5 separate regions of the Homo sapiens genome follow, and regions 2, 3, 4 and 5 are each linked to region 1. Evidence: promoter capture Hi-C in 16 types of primary human blood cells and fetal thymus (Javierre and others, 2016). All regions are on one chromosome and are shown on one strand. Each heading gives the region's core, a stretch centred on a gene start or on the middle of the fragment in contact. The rest is flanking DNA. Distances are from core to core; before and after follow the strand shown.

Region 1 (2,700 bases), core at 68-2,567:
ATGTGAACACTTTCCATTTTTGCTATATAATGAGAGTACTTTCATTCCTTTAATGTTTGCTTTTTCCTTTGATCTAACAATTTCTCTTCAAATTTCACAGTTTTCTGTTGCTTTAGGATTGAAAGAACCGATTAGCCCGCTGGGAGCGTGAAACAGACTTAAAAAAAATCTGCATGGTATTTCCTCCCAGTGAAATTAATTTAGGTTTAAATACAGGGGGAAGGGACACACCTTGTGCTCGAGTCTCTTTCTCTCACACACCTGAGCAGTTCCTATCCTGAAAGGGCACAGTCGGACCTGCTGCCAAGTCTTAAGTCTTTTGTGAGAATCTTTTTTTGCAAGGCACGGAGAACCTCTTTCTCTTTGACACCAGCTTTGTGTGGGCCTGATGACACGTTTGGACGGCTCTATTTCTTTGAAGGCCAACCTCAGAGGCCCACGGACGCGTCGGGCACTGTCCGTGGCTGGGTTACTTAAGTGTAGCTGGGTTGGCTTCCCGGGTGTTTTAGGAAACGCACCTTCTTGCAGGGCAGGGACCGTCAGCTCCAGAGCAACAAAGGACAATTTGGAGAGGAGTGGAAGGAGCGCTCCATAGTGGCTCTGTCATCCCAGGTTCCCTTCTGCCTAGCACCGTGGCCCTAGTGATCCCGCCTTCGCCCTCTGGATCCCCCACCCCCACTGTCTCGCTGCTCGAGAGCCCGGCGGGGCGCGGTGAGCCCCACCACCTTCCCCCACACCCTCCCTCCCCATCCCCTTCAAATCCTAGGAGCAGCGCTGCGCGCAGCAGCCGCGCTCGCCCCGCGCCCGGCCCCGGCCTCCCCAGCACCCCGGGGACCCGGTCCCCCGTCCCGCCTCCCCCTGTCCAGCAGTCCGCAGCCTCCCCCTCCAGCCCCAGTGGCGGGAGCTGTCAAGCCCGCAGCAGCCGAACCACCCCCCGAGCGACCGCGTCTCCTCTTCTTCCTTTGTGTGTGCGCGAGCGGAGTTGGGGCGGAGGGAGAAGGGGGAGGTCGCTCTGTCTGTCCGTCTCCCGCCGCCTCTGCCCGGTCTACTCGAAGTGCGGCGGGAGAGGCGGGAGCCCAGGAGAGGGTGCGGGAGCTGGCGGGGCGGCTCGGAGCTGCCAGGACGCCCTGGTCCCAGCCGCGCACAGGGGAGCGTGGACGGCAGAGGGGCTCGGCGGGAGCCGAGATCCGCCCGTCCCGGCTGCCCCTCGGCCTCCCTCTGCTCCCACCTACCCCCTGACACCCATAGAAAAGCGTGCAAAGGCGCGGAGCGGGACGGAAACCACAAATAAATAGCGGCGGCGGCAGCGCGTCATCTGGTGGAGCAGGAAGTGCAGGCAGAGTCCGGAGGCTGGTGCTTTCTGCGCGTCCCCAGGACTTTGCCATGGGCTGGGGGCCGCGGAGGCTGCGAGCGGCCGGGCGAGGGCAGCGGCGGCGGCGTCCGCACCGGGGCTGAGCGAGCAGCGACGCGAGGGGCGCGCGGAGATGGCAGCGTCCAGCAACTCCAGCCTGTCCGGCTCGTCGGTGTCCTCCGGTGAGTTTCAGCCCGTCGGGCGCTGCTGCCGCGCCGGGTCTCGCCCCACTGCCCTCGCCCCGCAGCCTGGGATGGACAGAGCCTACCTGTGGCCATCCCGCCCGCTCTCTCGGAATGGGGGCAGGCGTCCGGGGTGATACTTGTTTGGTTCGCCAGCACCTCGGTGCCCAGAGCACCTCCGCGCCTGACATCTGACAGCGCAGAGGTGGGAGAGCGGTGGTGCCCTTAGTGTGCGGACGCGGGTGTTCCGGGGCTTGGAGTGCAGCGAGCGAAAAGCGAAAGGAGCGGGCAGGCTCGCACTTTCTGGCGCAGCTGGAGCGGGGGCTGGCGGGGCGGAGAAGGTTGGGGTGAAGCAGAGCGCCCCGACCTGTTTGCCGTGCCGCGCCCGCTACCCTGGACACCCAAATCCGGAGCAGAGGGGAGCAAACCCTCGCTCCTCGCAGACTTGATTTTCTTTGTTTGTTTCAGAAATTAGCTCTATGGAGACACTCGCTTGGGCATGGGTTTTAGACAGCAGCAATGAAGGGATGTATCTTTCTGATCCTGATTGAAGTGGGTTAGGGGAAGAGAGGTCGAGCCCATCCTCTGACTCTTGGCACATTTACGAGAGAGAGAGAGAGAGAGAGAGAGAGAGAGAGAGTGTGTGTGTGTGTGTGTGTGAGAGAGAGAGAGAGAGAGACTCCTTAGAGATTTTCTGATAATAGTGGCTGTAATTTCACTAGCAAGGCATGCATTTTTTTTCCTTTTAAGAATGGTTGAGCAAAGGGAAGGCTTCTTTCAGCTTTTCTATGGTTGATCATCGGGTCTAATTGAAGAGAAAAAAATTGCTAATGAATCTGAAGGAGTAGGAATCAATAGAGGCAGACCCACTGGTTTCTGAGTATGACAGGTTTCTAATCAGAATGATGCATTAGGTAGAATTCCTGTACCTCTCTGGTCATTGAAAACTTTAATGACAAACCCAAAGGGATAGCTGATAAGACATTTAGGGTAGTATACAGTATTTAAGGGTCAAGAAGGTCATGAAGTCCTAATGGAAGTGCTTCAATATATTAATATTGTATTAAGTCCCATTGGGCTGTTTTTATTATTATTCGCGAATTAAACTCAAAGGAAGAAACACCTTTTTGGAGGCATTGGATAGCAAGCAGGGCAAAAAGGCAACCA
Region 2 (2,700 bases), core at 126-2,625, 190 kb after region 1:
CAACTTGTGTGTATGTACAGAACTTAGCAAAGCAATTGGTCACCTTTTAAGGAGATTTATTACAGAAAGACTGACCAGTGGACATTTATAGTACATTCTAATCAATACAGGAAGGAATTCACCTCATCAGTGCCCTATTCGATTTCCAGAAGTGTTAAAGAAATGCCATGAGGAAAAAATTAGGCCTTAGATTCTAAATGGAAAGAAATGGGAGATTTTAGAGTCTGCTCAATTTTCATTCTATGCTCTGCACTTTGACTACAAGAGTGTAAATTTCAGTACTTGCATTTTCTTTCTCTCCTTTTCAGTGGGGGAATCTTTGATTTCTAATTAAAAAGGAATTATCTGTATTTATTTTTTGTGGATGAAATTGCCCCAGTATCACCAGCACAAATCCCCCCATCAAAAGCCTTTTCTCCCCTACTTGATCCATCTCTCAGAAAATCCGGCAATCTAGCTGCCCTGTGTAGGAGGCTGCTAAGTCGGGTTTTTAAATTATTTCTATTAAGTAAAAACTTAACATATACCAGCTGCGGAGGGATTACAAAAGCTTTGTTCTTTCAATAATTGGAAACCTTGTTTACAGAGGACTCACAATATTCTGTAAATGTCTTTGTGTTGAACATAAAGGAACTTGTGTTTATCTAGGCAATGATAATCTGACTATAAAGCAAACTCATTTAAGGATTATGCTTTCTGTCTCTCACTGTGCAGCTGTCACCCTACTGTTCTTTGGAGCTTGGCAAAATACTGAGAAGTCTTCCTTAAAATTGAAAAATACATTGGGAAATAAACCAGGTAGTTTGGGAATACACGTGAATCCAAATCACAGGGAAATATTTGAGAGACCCCAAATGTCACTCCATCCTAGGCAAATTTTTCCGAAGTTCACATTTGCCAATTCATTGATGGAATTCAGTTCATTCAAGAGAGATTTTAAGGTCTCGAGTCCTAGCAAAGAAAACTGAAGACCATTCAGATAATCTAATGTATTTAGTCAAACTGTAAATTTTGAGAGCCAACAAAGGCATTAGCGCTGATTAGTATCTACTGGAGAAGGAGTGAAGCACAGTACTTAGGGGTGGTCCCCATCTAGGCTCAGCCACTTAACTAGCTCTGTGACCTCATGCTATTTAGTGGTTCTCTTTAAAATAACAGCACTCACTTACCTTGGAGCATTGTTTAGAGACTTAAATGAGACAAAAGGAGAGAAACCCTCAGGACTCTGCCTGGCACAGAGTAGCCACTCAATAAATGAGAACCTATTGCCACGATGGTCCAAGTCTCACATGTGGGTATCTCATCTAATCTGTGAAACAGCCTTATTAAAATAGCTCATTTTTATAACCCCAGTTTTACTGAAAATTGAGAAAAATGAGATGCAAAGGAGTGTAATAATCTACTCAGAGTCCCACAGTAACTGGATTGATGAGCAAGGGTCCACATGCATATTCTGTGTCTCATTCTGCAAACATGCAATGAGGACAGGCACTCTTGTTTTCCGAATACTCACTATTTGAATATTTGCTATTGGGACTTGCTAAAAGCCATTCCCAATTAGAAACCAGCTATGACACGTTCTCTCATGTGTGGCAGCTTCTCAAACTTTAATGTATCTATGAATCCCCTTAGAATTGCAGATCCCACATTTCTAGCAAATTCCAAGATGATGCCAATACTGCTGGCCCCGTGATCACACTCTGAGTAGCAGGGTGCTGAAAGACAAAGGGTGGGCTTCTCTCATATCTGTGTTCTCCTGATCCTGTTTAAACATATAGCACATTATATCTGTAATTTCCCTACCTTTTCCCTGAGGGTTTAGCCCTTCAGTATTTGTTTAGGCCAGGACCCTAGGAGCACTACCAACTCAGGTCCAATTAGATAGTAACTTTCGAATCTTTGGTAATATCACTGCATTATTTATTTTTATTATAATACATGCTCAGTGTAGAAGGCTAATGAAATTCCTATTTATTCAGCTGTAGACTGCACACAAATATACCTACTCATTACTGCATTAAGTGTTAAACAATTAGGTAATTGTTTTTTAAGTGTTTTATATTGTGAAAAGATTGCTATTAGATTGTCAGGTAATTATTTAGGAGCATTTTAGTAATATTTGGAAAATGGATATTTTTGCATTCTCTAAAAATGAATTTTGTTTTCTGTGTAAAGTAATGGAATATAGACTCTTGCTGTTTGAAGCTTTGCTGCGCTATACATTTTTTAGGAATGGGTGAGACTCAGATAACAAGGGGTAGCTGCATTTACTCTGTGACAGATATTGGCAGAAATCCTGGAAATAGGTGAATGATGAAGACAAAATTGCTGCTCCACAGAACAGTTAGGAAAAAAATGGCAAATAAATATTTAAAATATGGTGAGATAAGTTTTCTAATGGAGACATGTAAAAGGAGCTCTAAGAACACAGCAAGGGATGGGCCTAACCCTTCCTTCTATACAGAGGAGACCTTCTCAGGATCCCGGTGATAGCTCATAGCAACTGACTGGCTGTCTGCGCCAGGCACTGTTGCAAGCATATTACACATATTTATTCATTTACTCTTACAACAACCCCATGAGACAGGTACTTTTATTATCATTCTCATTTTAAAGATAAGAAAACTGAGGAGTATAGAAATAGGTAACTTGCTTAAATTCCCACAGATCTGGCCTCAAACCTAGGCAGTTTGAGTCCAG
Region 3 (2,700 bases), core at 149-2,648, 170 kb after region 1:
TCATACATCTGCAGCTAATTCTTAACTCTCAAGACTGAATACAAGAAACATTGATGACGTCACTGAGAAAGCTTTGGTTTCAATGCTCTAAAAGAAGAGCTACTTTCAAGTTTACTTAAAAATAATAATAAAGCTACATTCTAAACTTTAAGCCAGAACTGTATGAACTTTATGCCTCGAGCAGGCAAGTTCAAAAGCCAATCACCATGGTTATGCTCTGAAAGATTTTCTTTCTTAAGAGGCCAAGTGCCAATTAGGCAGCAGATGCAGTGGCTGACAGCTCTCCCTGGAGGCTCCCCTGGGCAGCAGGTCACTCAGGCATAGCTTGTGCCTGTTTTACAGATTTGAAGTTTAGAGCCTCAAAACCCTGATCTGCAGAATCCCTGCATCAGAATCCCTTGGGGAGGATATTTATGATAATTATTCCTCAGCCTTACCCCAGATCTCTGGATCAGAAAAGTGGGGGGATCTGCAATGTATCAAACCCCACAGGTTTCTCTTATACATACTTACGCCTGAAACCCCTCAGTGTGTGGGCAACTGTCATCTCCTCCTAGAGGTTTTTCACAGTGCCATTAGACAAGATAATTAAATCCCCATTAAGACTCGACATTCTGGCCGGGTGCAGTGGCTCACGCCTGTAATCCCAGCACTTTGGGAGGCCGAGGCAGGCAGATCACCTGCGGTTGGGAGTTCGAGACCAGCCTGACCAATATGGAGAAACCCCATCTCTACTGAAAATACAAAATTAGCCAGGCATGGTGGTGCATGCCTGTAATCCCAGCTTCTCGGGAGGCTGAGGCAGGAGAATCCTTGAAGCCAGGAGGCAGAGGTTGTGGTTAGCCGAGATCATGCCATTGCACTGCAGCCTGGGCAACAAGTGCAAAACCCCGTCTCAAAAAAACAAAAAAAATTGACATTCTGTTAGGAAGGCAAGGCCTTCCCATGGCAGGGTGGAGGGTGGGGTTGAGCCAAGGAAGACACCTAAAGCACCTACAATTCCCTGCTTATAAGGTTTTCCCATGAAAATCGGGAAGACATGAGCAGTGAGCAGGGTCATACTGGCTCAGCGTCATGGCCAAGTGCCTGGGTTCAGCTCCTGGGTCCATATACCCTCCTTAGAAAGAAGTAGACTGTTAGAAGCCATCCCTGCAGGATCTCTTAGGAGCTGATGGGGCTGGCCTGGGCTTCAAGGCCACCCAGGCTGTGGGCTTTCACCCATTAGCCGTCTGATTCTGTTCCCAGAGTGAGTCAAGTTTTCTTACTGAAGAAAAAGTAAAACAGTCTGTCAGTGAGCTCACAATTTCTTAATCTGCTTTGGGTTTCTTGGGGAGTTAGGGAGCTCCACCTCCGTGTTCCCCAGTGGCTGCCACCCCTGCCAAACAGCTTACTCTGGTGCTAAGAATTCTCTGGTGTGCGGCAGAGGGCCCGGGGCTGGGAATTCCTGGCACATATTTGGGACATTGCTGCAGAAGTAATTCCATCACGTCACCTCTCAGCTCACAGACCACCCAAGAATTGACATACATTATTGCATGTGACTTGTGAAATGTGTTTGTTGAACAAGGAAAATTCAAGAAGCAACGTTTTCAGATTATGCGATAAATTTCTGTTATATTCAACTCTGCCTCAGAGATTTTTTTCATGGATGCTATAGCTAACCTTGAAAATGATGGGCAGGCTCTCATTTGAAGCTAAGAGAGGAGATTGGGCCTTATTTTTATATGGTTGCCGTGGTAATTGATTGTCATCTCATTATCTTTATAGCCAGCCAGGTAACCCAGATGGCAAATAGGCTTCTGTGCCTACTTGCCAACTTCTGTTGTTTGGAACAGCATAGAACAGGGTTTTGCAGATTCTGAGACCTGCTCATTGAGAAATAAGTCATCAAATAATGATGTCTACTGCCGAGGGGCCAGGAGAGAGAGGTGGCAGTTCCTCGCTTCTGGGGTTTGCCTTCCCCTTCCCTCCTCCAAGTCGCCCCTGGCTGGGGATTGTTCTTTGTTGGTTGTGAGATTGGTGAATTACCAAATTTTTCTTTGCTAAAGCTCAGAGGGTTCCTAGAGAATGCAGCTATGGGATTTAGCCTGTTGACATAGGAGAGGAACTGTCCAGAAATGTTCCATCACCTGCATCCTTTATTTGTATAGTAGCATCTCAATCTCTCAGCCGCTCAGGGTCTCTTTGTAAACCAGTCTTGTTGATTCTCTTTTGAATCTCTGAGGCCATCAACTCACCTTCTCATTTGCATTTGCACCAGTGTTATCTTAACTCACACTTTCACAACCTCATCTGTGTACCAGTAAAACACTGTTCTCTCTTGCTTCCTTGTCTCCAGTGTTCCCCATGTCTGATCCCTCTTTCAGCAAGGCAAAGGACAGTGGCTCCTACTCCTGGATATGCATGAGTCTCTTGAAGAGCTTTAAAAAGAACAGATCTGGGGGCCCCTGGCCGGACTGGGAGAGTAAGCAATGCCAGAGATGGAGTCTAGGAATCTGTATTATTTTATAACTCCTAGGAGTTTCTAATGTGAGCAGCTCCTCATGGGACCTCTCCACCATCTAGTTAGGCAACCACTGGCTGAGGCTGAAAACTACAGCCTTTGGGTTTTGGAAATCAAGGCAATGAATCTTCATTTCATCCTCTGATCTGTGTGACCTTGAGCATCTTCAAAGCTGGCAGGCAACCCCGCTACCTTAT
Region 4 (2,700 bases), core at 62-2,561, 230 kb after region 1:
GAAGGGCCAGTCAGGATGACTTCTCAGCGTACCAGTATGCAGTGGGCACATGGTGGCAGTTCTTTTTTTAAATTTTCCAAGAACTGACAACTGTTAGGCCAGTCTTGGGTGTGCCTGTGTATAAAGTTTCTAGCAAACTTAGAGTCAACTTTCTGGGGTAGACACCTCAAGGCTTTGTTTAATTGTTAGTTAGATAGTTAGAAATAATCACCACCAATTTACACCTAGCACAGTGTTCTGAATCTACTACCAGATTAAAACTCAGTCTAGAGGTATTGGGAATACTGGATATTCACATGCAGAAGAATGAATTTGGACTCTTACTTTTCACCAAATACACTAACATTAAATTTATTAACTACCTACACATAAGACCTAAAATTATAGAACTCCTAGAAGAAAATATAGGGGAAAGCTCCATGATATTGGGGCTGGCAGTGATTTCTTGGATGTGACACCAAGAGCACAGGCAACAAAAGCACATATAGACAAAAAGGATAATATCAAACTTAAAATTTTCTATGTGTCAAAGGATGCAATCAACAAAGTGAAAAGGCAACTTATGGAATGGGACAAAATATTGCAAATCATATATCTAATAAGGGTTTAATATCCATAATGTATTTTTAAAAACTCCTACAACTCAACAACAACAACAACAAAAGTAAATAACCCAATTTAAAAATGGGCAAAGGACTTGACATTTGTCCAAAGATGATACTCAGATGGCCAACAAGCATATGAAAAGATGCTCTACATCATTAATCATTAAGGAAATGCAAATGAAAACCACAAGGAAATATTATCTCACACCGGCCGGGTGCAGTGGCTCATGCCTGTAATTCCAGCACTTTGGGAGGCCAGGAGTTCCAGACCAGCCTGGCCAACATGGTGAAACCCCGTCTCTACTAAAAATACAAAAATTAGCCAGGCATGGTGGCACGCACCTGTAATCCCAGCTACTCGGGAGGCCGAGGCAGAAGAATTGCTCAAACCCAGGAGGCAGAGGTTGCAGTGAGCCAAGATCATGCCACTGCACTCCAGCCCAGGTGACAGAGTGAGACTCCATCTCAAAAAAAAAAAAAAAATTATCTCACACCTATTAGGATAGCTACAATTAAAAAAAAAAGTAACAAGTGTTGGTATGGATGTGGAGAAATTGGAAGCCTTGTGCATTGCTGCTGAGAATGTAGAATGGTGCAGCTGCTATGGAAAACAATATGGCAGTTCTTCAAAGAAACAAAAATAGAATCACCATATGATCTAACAATTCCACTTCTGGGTATATAGCCAAAAGAATTGAAAGCAGGATCTCAAAGAGAAATTTGTATACCCATGTTCATAACAGTATTATTCTCAATAGCCAAGAGGTAGAAGCAACTCAAGTGTCTATGGATGGATGAATGAATAAAGAAAATGTAGTATAGACATGCAGTGGAACATACTTTAGCTTTAGCTTCAAAAGGAAGGAAACCCTGTCCTGTGCTGTAACATGGATGAACTTTGAGGACATTATGCTAAGTGAAATATGTCAGACATATTCTGTCTAAGAATCTTTGTTTATACTAAGACAAATACTGTCTTAATATGAGGTATCTAAAGCAGTCATATTCACAGCAACAGAATGTGAAATGCAGAATGGTTGTCAAGGGCTGAGGGGAGAAGGAAATGGGGAATTGTTCAACAAGTTTTAGTTTTGCAAGATGAAAAAGTTCTGGAAATCAATTGTACAACAATGTGAGTATGCTTAACATTACTGAACTGTACACTTGAAACAGTTAAGATGATAAATTTTAGATTATATGGGTTGTTTTTTCTTCTTTTCTTTCTTTTTTTTTTTGAGATGGAGTTTTGCTCTTTTGCCCAGGCTGGGGTACAGTGGTGCCATCTTGGCTCACTGCAACCCCTGCCCCCCAGGTTCAAGCGATTCTTCTGCCTCAGCCTCCTGAGTAGTTAGGATTATAGGCACCCACCACCTAATTTTGGTATTTTTGGTAGAGACGGGGTTTCGCCATGTTGGCCAGGCTGATCTTGAGCTCAGGTGATCCACCCGGCTCAGCCTTCCAAAGTGCTAGGATTACAGGCGTGAGCCACCATGTCCGGCTATATGGGTTTTTAAACCACAACTAAATTTAGAAAGAAAAACTCAATCTAGAGAAGCAGATAGTACCAACACCTTTCTTGTACTTTCAATGAAGGTCAACTCAAGTTCATTTCTCTTGCCCAGCACCAGAGGTTGATCTGAAGCCAGCCTGTCTGAGAGTCAGCAACAGAGTCAGCCGCACTGGGACTGTTCAGATCTTCAGCCTACCCAAGGGCAGACTCCCCAAATTAAAAATTACCCCCCATTTCCTGCCTTTGGGCTACTTTAGTGCCTCTCAGAAGTGTCCTCAGGGAAACGGCTCTGGAAGGAAGTAAAACTGAAGGCAGAGCTGGTAAAAAGTTCTGTGCACAGAGGAATGTGAGGCTACTGGCTAAAAACGACTGGGTTTCAAGTAGTCTTGCACCTGCCGCCCTAACCACACATAAGAGAAGTGACTATTGGGACAACCAAAGCTCCTTGATGCCTGCACTTCCTCCTGCTTTATTTCTTCATCTCCAAAGGGATTCATCCAATGACTTCTTTTGGCAGGAACATTCTAGCTCAGAGAAGGTGAGCTGAAAATTAAGAATAGCTGTTTGAGGAGAAAGTGAGAGAAG
Region 5 (2,700 bases), core at 149-2,648, 130 kb after region 1:
CGTTTCCTAAAGGCTCTGTTTGTCTCCACCAGCAGGTCTCTGCCTTCCCTGGAACGAAATGTGTGGGCTCAGTCCTTGATTATGGTTGCTTTCAAATGCTTTGTAGCAGGGGCAGTGTCCTGCAGAAAGGTGGGATGTGGCTTTAACCCATGACAATAGAGATTGGTAAAGAACCAGGTTACAAATTCTAAACCCCACACCCCTGTGATGATGGAACAGCCTTTGCCAAATCTCCCCAAGCTTCTCCAGCTACAAAATGGGCAAAATAAAACTTCTCTTTCTCCTCCTCCTCTTCCTACTCCTCCTCCTCCTCACCTAGTAGGAGTATTGTGAAGATAAAAAGCAATAATTGGTGTGAAAATGCCCTGAGCTCCATAGATGAAAGCTCTCTATAATGTCAACATATCATTACACTGACTTTATTAGGATTTCAATACGGTTCTGTGGCTCATAGAAGTAGCTCTTTCAGCTGGTCATATGAAGTCCTAGGTCTTTACTCCACAAAGGAATTATTTACTGCAAATATAGTCAGGTCAACACTATTCCTAGTCAGGGACGGCCTAGAGTTAGAGGATAGACATGCCTCGATTTGGGAAGCACTGTGTAGCCATGCCTAACAGCTTCTTGTAATGGGGAACGACCTACCTCCTGAAGCAACTTTTGGAGACCACTAGTGTGCTTCCTTGTGGCTGGGTGCGGTGGCTCATGCCTATAATCCCAGCACTTCGGGAGGCCAAGGATCACGAGGTCAAGAGATCGAGACCATCCTGGCCAACATGTTGAAACTCCATCTCTACTAAAAATACAAAAATTAGCTGGGTGTGATGGCATGCACCTGTAGTCTCAGCTACTTGGGAGGCTGAGGCAGGAGAAATGCTTGAAACTGGGAGGCAGAGGTCGCAGTTGAGCCAAGATCGTGCCACTGCACTCCAGCCTGGCCAGAGAGTGAGAATCCGTCCCCCCCGTTCCCCCCCAACAAAAAAAGAAAGTGCTTGCTTGTATTGGCACTGGTTCTCTTTCTCTGCAGCCTTGGACTTCGCAGAGCACATCAACATCTGACCTTTCAGATGTTTGAAGATGGATACCCTGCTCACTCAGAGACATTGCTCACTCAACTTTCTTCAGTTGTGTCTTACATGATGAGGTTTTGAATCCTCTCCTCCAGACGTATTCCAATCCCAGAACTACACTCCAGGTAGTCTGACCAAAGCAGATGGCCCCCTCATTATTCTGCTACCACAGCCTAAGATTACAGAGTTTTTGGTAGCTTTGTCATACTTTACTGGAACAGCCTGAGGGATTCTTCCTGCCTGCTACATAAAGAAAGACCACAGCATTGTAGTAAATAAAGTGCTTAATAGACATGAGGCCGCCTCGCCACGTGGGAGATGGAGTTCATACTTAAATCATCTCATCAAACTTCCTGAGTTAGGGGTTTTTCAAAGGCAGTTTAGGGGGAAGGGTGGGGTGGCTGGGCTTGCTGCTGATTGGTTGGGGCAGAGATTAAATTATAGGGGGTTGAGGCTGGGCGCGGTGGCTCACACCTGTAATTCCAGCACTTTGGGAGGCCGAGGCGGGCGGATCACGAGGTCAGGAGATCAAGACCATCCTGGCTAACATGGTGAAACCCCGTTTCTACTAAAAATACAGATACAGAAAAAATAGCCGGGCGTGGTGGCAGGCACCTGTGGTCCCAGCTACTGGGGAGGCTGAGGCAGGAGAATGGCGTGAACCCGGGAGGCGGAGCTTGCAGTGAGCAGAGATTGTGCCACTGCACTCCAGCCTGGGCGACAGAGCGAGACCCCGTCTCAAAAAAACAAAACAAAACCAAAAAAAAGAAAAAAAAAGTTATAGGGGGTTGAAGCTGTCCTCCTGTGGGTTGAATCACTTTTGGGAGGTGGGGGGCGGGCACAGGAGTGGGGTTGGTGGGTCCATTGGAGCCGTAAGTGTCAAGACATTCAAAACACTTGAAAAGATATCTCAAAAGGCCCATCTTAGGTTCTACAATAGTGATGCTATTTGCAGGAGTAGTTGAAGTTGCGTATCTTACAACTTCTGGAATCATGGCTGATAATCGTTTACACCTGCACCTTAGCAGCACGCATGCATCTCTTCTCCACACAGCCTGATGGCCTCCCATTAGCTTTATAAAAGTGATTGAATTTTGAGGGAGACCTTTTATCATTTAAACCATAGCCTAAATGTCTCTCAAAGTCCGCTTGGCCCAAAAGCCCAGGAATAATTTAGGGAAAGGCAAGATAGGGGTTGGGTTAGTTCAGCTGTTACAATTTTTCTCACTGATAGAATTTTTGCAAAGCCATTTCATTACTGTTAGAGTGACACTGTTGACAATCTCTGCATCTGTACCATATGTACCCCTGCTAGATCGTGTCTTCTAACATCAGCTGTGACTTTTTTTTTTTTTTTAATTTTTGACAGAAAGTTACATCTATCTCTCAACTGAAAATTTTATTGAATTTGGTGCCAAGCTATTCAGGTCTTTTTAAATCCACATTTTGCTGTCTAATATATTAACCACCCCCTGCAGGTGGTAATCCAAGCTTCTGGGCATTTATTCTAGAAAGAGTAAAGGGTTTATTTCTTGTAAATATAGGGAAGTTTAATTTGATCCACTGTACATGGATAGTTTTGATAAGAATGCTCCCTGCTTTTGATTAAATATTCCCTGGGATAAGAACA

Evidence for each region. The method cuts DNA at HindIII sites, captures the fragments that hold promoters and counts their contacts. A CHiCAGO score of 5 or more calls a contact.
Region 2: a fragment that was not itself captured here is called in contact with the fragment with the promoter of CHN2 in region 1 in 6 of 17 cell types (total CD8 T cells, fetal thymus, naive CD8 T cells and 3 more); the score reaches 8.1 in total CD8 T cells.
Region 3: a contact is called between a fragment that was not itself captured here and the fragment with the promoter of CHN2 in region 1, in 2 of 17 cell types (endothelial precursors and megakaryocytes). The highest score is 5.6, in endothelial precursors.
Region 4: a fragment that was not itself captured here is called in contact with the fragment with the promoter of CHN2 in region 1 in 1 of 17 cell types (total CD8 T cells); the score reaches 8.6 in total CD8 T cells.
Region 5: a fragment that was not itself captured here is called in contact with the fragment with the promoter of CHN2 in region 1 in 1 of 17 cell types (megakaryocytes); the score reaches 5.2 in megakaryocytes.

Annotation. Positions count from the first base shown.
Region 1 is chr7:29,193,458-29,196,157 of GRCh38, forward strand. CHN2 (chimerin 2) reads left to right here and starts at 1,318. Exons shown (of 13, transcript NM_004067.4): 1 at 1,318-1,533. The coding sequence starts at 1,485. It also overlaps a transcript of CPVL not described here. RefSeq lists an enhancer at 1,971-2,606. The HindIII fragment of the contact is 12,795 bases long and covers 1-2,700 here.
Region 2 is chr7:29,385,935-29,388,634 of GRCh38, forward strand. The region is part of intron 3 of CHN2 (chimerin 2); the gene reads left to right. Among named protein-coding and RNA genes, the nearest start is that of PRR15-DT, 180 kb to the right of the region's middle. The HindIII fragment of the contact is 1,655 bases long and covers 549-2,203 here.
Region 3 is chr7:29,359,624-29,362,323 of GRCh38, forward strand. The region is part of intron 2 of CHN2 (chimerin 2); the gene reads left to right. Among named protein-coding and RNA genes, the nearest start is that of CHN2-AS1, 150 kb to the left of the region's middle. The HindIII fragment of the contact is 2,659 bases long and covers 70-2,700 here.
Region 4 is chr7:29,418,988-29,421,687 of GRCh38, forward strand. All of the region lies in intron 6 of CHN2 (chimerin 2), which reads left to right. Among named protein-coding and RNA genes, the nearest start is that of PRR15-DT, 140 kb to the right of the region's middle. The HindIII fragment of the contact is 5,077 bases long and covers 1-2,700 here.
Region 5 is chr7:29,322,194-29,324,893 of GRCh38, forward strand. The region is part of intron 1 of CHN2 (chimerin 2); the gene reads left to right. Among named protein-coding and RNA genes, the nearest start is that of CHN2-AS1, 110 kb to the left of the region's middle. The HindIII fragment of the contact is 2,321 bases long and covers 239-2,559 here.